Linked DNA regions of Homo sapiens: region 1 is linked to region 2. Evidence: promoter capture Hi-C in human tissues and cell types (Jung and others, 2019). All regions are on one chromosome and are shown on one strand. Each heading gives the region's core, a stretch centred on a gene start or on the middle of the fragment in contact. The rest is flanking DNA. Distances are from core to core; before and after follow the strand shown. Region 1 overlaps BTBD7 (BTB domain containing 7). Region 2 holds the start of UBR7 (ubiquitin protein ligase E3 component n-recognin 7).

Region 1 (2,700 bases), core at 43-2,542, 50 kb before region 2:
AGCCTGGCCAACATGGTGAAACCCCATCTCTACTAAAAATAGAAAAATTAGCTGCGTGTGGTGGCGGGTGCCTATAATCCCAGCTACTTGGGAGGCTGAGGCAGGAGAATCGCTTGAACCCAGGAGGTGGAGGTTGCAGTGAGCCAAGATCATGCCACTGCACTCTAGCCTGGGCAACACAGCAAGACTCCATCTTAAAAAATAATAATAAAAAAATAAATAAAAGGTAGTTTCCACACTGGGTTAGTGGAAGGTTCTTCTGCAAGGATAAGAAGGAAGCTAAGTGAACCAGGCCATAGCTTTGTTTCAGTCAGTTTTATACAGGAGGATTCTGCACTTACCTGTCACATATTTGGGGGTTTCATGTAAGATTTTATATGAAAACAGGATGTCACTACTTTAAGAAAAAAAAATATTTTGAAAAGCAGAATGCCTTAAATAAGTATGAAGCTAAATCATAGCTAGGCAAGGGGGAAAAAAATGACTCTTTTCTACACAGTTAACAATTTTATTCTGAATGAATCCAGAAAAAAACTTAGCTTCTCAAAAACAATCAATTCTCTCTCTCTCTCTCTCATACACACACACACACACACACGATTTAAGGAAGATACCAGTTTTCCTGTAGAATATTTGAAAAAAATCCAGCATTTCATGAATAATAAGATCTTATTCTGTGTTAATTTTTTTAAGAAAAAAATTACAGACCCCTAGATTAAAGCCATGATTAAAGATTTCCAAATTACATAATTTTTCTTCCCACCTCAATAGCATAAGCATACATGTATTTCAGATTGTTGTTCACTAATGCCCAATGAAGAAATCATTCTCTGCCTTGGATGATGGACATATATTACATGTCAAAGATCAAAGGGTCTACTTTTATGCAGTAATGTTCCCATATTATGGAAATTTGGGAGATTTTCATAAAAATCTTAAAACCAAATAAAGCACATTATGCTTTGCTGCTTCAAACACCAAGTGATTAACATGTTGTTAAATTACTGTTACACATATGTAGGCTAATGAGCATACTGATAACTTACAGTGACCAGAAATGGCATATGCTCTACAATGACCTTATACTACTAAACACTGGTCACAAAAGTGAGAAGGCTTTTTAAAAAGCCCTTGATAAAACTAGATTTTAGTAGATTGTCATCTTTTCTCTTTTGAGTTAGTCTATAGAAAGGAATCCTTTATTCTTTATTGCAGAGCAGTGATAAAATAATTTTATTGTACTGTTGATACCATGCTTTTTCTTTATCCAAGAACATCCCTATTAAACAAACATGAAAGAAAATAATTGATTTATAACCCTTTTTAAAGCAGAGGCACATAAGTCTATAGAGTGGTACTGTTAGTGTATGTACTAGAGAACAAAGGAAACCTGTCTCAGAACATTTGGATTTGGTTGGAAACTTTTCATTTTCTGTCTCATAGAGCCAAACTTACTGAGTGGCACTGCCCATAGTGTGAACAAAAGAGGTGTAAAAAGACGGGACCTGGACATGGAAGAGCTCAGAGAGATCCTTTCTTCTCTCTTACCTTTTGTGCGAATTGAACACATCTTACCTATAAACAGTGAAGTCTTAAGTGATGCAGTAAGTGTTTTTCTCCATGTATTCCTTTCATGAAAAGAAAAATGCCAGGTGTATGTTTTTATTCATTGTAAATAATTTCTGCTACTAATAGAGTATTGTGAAGCTGTAATTCTGTGAGGACAGAGACAGATGTCTATTGTGTACGATGTTGTATCTCCTGTGTCTTCCACATAATACAGTTAAAATGTTCAGTGAATGAGAGTTGAGTGGGTAAATAGGTCTTACTCATGCAAGAGCATTATTTCTAGCAGAGTTAATTCTGTCATTTAAGTGTAGATCAAGTAGACCCTTATTCAAAAAGGGAAAGGTAGAAATTACCTTTGAAGAGTCTTCAAGAACAGCAGTGAATCAGAGAGTAGTGGAGTGGAGGGATTGGTTGAATAGAAAAAGAATGGATGGACCTGAAAATTAATAGAGCTCATCTTGTTACTTTCATAATTTTTTAAACAGTGAATTTTTTAAAAATTAATATAATTGGCTGGGCGCGGTGGCTCACTCCTGTAATCCCAGCACTTTGGGACGCCAAGGCAGGTGGATCACCTGAGGTCAGGAGTTTGAGACCAGCCTGGCCAACATGGTAGAACCCCATCTCTACTAAACATACAAAAATTAGCCAGGCGTGGTGGTGCATGCCTATAATCCCAGCTACTCGGGAGGCTGAGGCAGGGGAATTGCTTGAACTGGGGAGGTGGAGGTTGCAGTGAGCCGAGATCGAGCCATTGCACTCCAGCCTGGGTGACAGAGCGAGACTCCATCTCAAAAAAAAAAAAATTAATAGAATTGCTTGAATTCATGGATGGGAAAAATAAATATTATAAATATTAGTTCTTCACACATTGACTTATAAACTTAATATAATGCTTATAAACATCATAATATGTTTTTTCTAACTGCACAGGAACATTATAAAACATTATAAAAGTCTTCTGGAAAAAAAACAAAACATAATAATAAACGAACTATCACAAGTCAATGTGGTGCTAGATTAACTGATTAGCAGAAGAAGAAATTTATTGAAAGTTAAACCATCGTTTCACTGGCACACAAAATTAATCCTTGTTAGACTGAAGAATTAAATACTAAATGGAAACATGGA
Region 2 (2,700 bases), core at 138-2,637:
TGATCTGGGTTGTGGGAACACGCACACTTTCCTTTCAAGCTGTGTACATGATTTGTGCAAATTTCCGTATTTTTTTTTTTACCACAAAGAAAATATTAAGGAATCCATTTTATAAAGGTAACTACACTTCAAAAATAGTTTACATATAGACATAACTTTTTTCTTTTTTTTTTTTTTAAGTAAAGCAGGGGAAAAATTGTTTTAGTGGTGACCAAAGGTTTTAAAATACCTGGGGCTATGTCTGGATACCAGGTTTATTCAACAATCTAGCACTTTGCAGTGTAAACTAACCTTGGTCAACAACGAGAACTGGTATTATGATCTCAGTTCATACCACATAATGAATACAAGTCTCTCCCCTCATCTCCCCAGTGTTCCAATCCACCCCTCTTCCTAGGTAACCCTTCTTCCTACCAATTCTCATCCTTTGTCAGTCTTCTTCCTACCCATCCTTTTCCATTTTTGTACCTCGAAGTGTAGGGTGAGTCACTAAACACCACATCACACCCCCTCAAACACTTGCTCACTCACAACGTCTTCCAAATGCCAAACAGATCCTTTTCTCCTCTCTCCCCTCCCTTGCCAGAGCCACTTGCTGTTCTGTTTCCGGTCTATTTCCAGGGGAGGGGGGCAGACTGCAGATAGACATGGGTACTTGCTTCATTTTGCCAAAAAAAGAAAGAAAGAAAAAGTACTAGCTAGCACTTGTCCAACTAAATTGCAGAGGAACTAGCTGTCAAGGAGCTCACCGCAAATCCCTATGGATTTGAAAATCTCTTTAACCTGACTCTCCCATTCGGTCCCTAATAAATAAATAAATAAATAATCTTAGGATGGGAAAATCAGGGACAAAGATGTCTGGATCTGAGAGGTCGCGGGGTGGTTTCGTGAAAAGCAGTGGTGCACCAAGAAGAGGCTGGAGAGGACGGACAGAGCAGCTGCTCCAGGGCCCTTCCTGGCGGGCCGGACAGAGTTGGAGACAGGGGAGAGGGGGGCCCCTGCTGGACACAGGCTGAAGGGGGCCCAGGAGGTTGGGGTTAAAAGGGAAGGGTGAGCTTGGGGTGAGGAAGCGGCAGACTAACGGCGGCCCCGGACCACCACTGGGGAGACGACTGCGGCAAGGCGGGAATAGGGACAGCCGGGCCGGGAAGGGGAGGTTCGGCGGGAGCCGGGGGAGAGGAGGCCCGGGCCGCGCGCCCACCTGAGAGTAGGAGCACTTCTCGGAGTCGCTGCCGCCCAGGACAGCGCACGCCTCATTCTCCAGCTCCTCGTCCTCCTCAAGGACGTCGACCAACGATACCACGGGCTCCAGCTCCGACTGCCGCCCAGCGGCGCCCTCGGCTCCGGCCATCCTCAACTGTCAGCCGAACAGCGGCTCGGCCCCGGCGGAGGCGGGAAAAGCGGCCGTGAGGGGCGTAGCCGGAGGAGGTGGGGCCCGAGTGCCAGGAACCAATGACAAGGAAAAAAAGCGAAGGAAGGGGGAGGAGCGACTTCCGACAAACGGATGTCACTCCTCTCCCTTCTCCCGCCTGCGCCGGACGCGGGCTGATTTCCGCCTCCGGGTGGCGCTTCCCGGTGTCGTGTTCTGGAAGCTTAGCGGTCACCATGGAGCTGCTGGGAGAGTACGTCGGGCAGGAAGGGAAGCCGCAGAAGCTGCGGGTGTCCTGTGAGGCGCCGGGTGACGGCGACCCTTTCCAGGGCCTGTTGTCTGGCGTGGCCCAGATGAAGGACATGGTAACGGAATTATTCGACCCTCTGGTACAGGGGGAAGTGCAGCACCGGGTGGCGGCGGCTCCAGACGAGGACTTGGACGGTGAGCTCTGAGACGGTGCTGCAGTGACCGGAGGACGGGGCGGGCGCCCAGGGGAAATTGGCTTGGGGAGCCCGTGTAGAGTGGCAGACTTGGACAAAGTGAGCCTCGAGGAAAGAAGAATTGCATCTAAAAATTTTTGGCGGGCTAGGCGAAGTGGGGCTCACGCCTGTAATCCCAGCACTTTGGGAGGGCGAGGCAGGAGGATCACTTGAGGTCAGGAGTTCCAGAACAGCCAGGGCAACATATCGAGACCCCGTTTCTATTATTATTTTTAAAATAATTTAAAAAATAAAAATTGTTGGCATTTATCACTATATTTATTTGGGCTGCTTCTACTCAAGCGTTTCCACAACTCATCGCTATTTCGTTTATTTCACAAAAAAACGTGTCGAATGCCTACTATTATGTGCCAAACCCTGAGCTGAGCCCTGGAGGAAGAATGAGGTGAATGCGACTCAGTTCCTGCCCTTGTGAAACACAAGGGGACTAGACAGGCAGACACTCTTATTAAAAGTGGAAGTGGTCCGGGCTGGTGGCTCACGCCTGTAATCCCTGCACTTTGGGAGACCGAGGCAGGCAGATCACGAGGTCAGGAGTTCGAGACAAGCCTGGCCAATATGGTGAAACCCTGTCTCTACTAAAAATACAAAAATTAGCTGGGCGTGGTGGCATGCTCCTGTAGTCCCAGCTACTCTACTCGGGAGGCTGAGGCAGAAGAATCGCTTGAACCCTGGAGGCAGAGGGTGCAGTGAGCCGAGATCGCGCCACTGCACTCTATCGTGGGCGACAGAGCGAGACTCCGTCTCAAAAAAAAAGAAAAAAAAAGTGAAAGTGGTTCTGTGGTCCTCTGTAACTGTTGCAAACCCAGACACCCTAGGAAGTCTTCA

The links. Contacts are between HindIII fragments. The study calls those that stand out against the background at their distance.
Region 1: a contact is called between a fragment that was not itself captured here and the fragment with the promoter of UBR7 in region 2, in 1 of the 25 tissues and cell types used here (hippocampus).

Annotation. Positions count from the first base shown.
Region 1 is chr14:93,256,099-93,258,798 of GRCh38, reverse strand. BTBD7 (BTB domain containing 7) reads left to right here. Exons shown (of 11, transcript NM_001002860.4): 6 at 1,444-1,604. Among named protein-coding and RNA genes, the nearest start is that of UBR7, 50 kb to the right of the region's middle. The HindIII fragment of the contact is 3,260 bases long and covers 1-2,700 here.
Region 2 is chr14:93,205,943-93,208,642 of GRCh38, reverse strand. UBR7 (ubiquitin protein ligase E3 component n-recognin 7) reads right to left here and starts at 1,387. Exons shown (of 11, transcript NM_175748.4): 1 at 1,202-1,387. The coding sequence starts at 1,351. GON7 (GON7 subunit of KEOPS complex) reads left to right here and starts at 1,578. Exons shown (of 2, transcript NM_032490.5): 1 at 1,578-1,813. The coding sequence starts at 1,606. RefSeq lists an enhancer at 1,482-2,341. The HindIII fragment of the contact is 21,573 bases long and covers 1-2,700 here.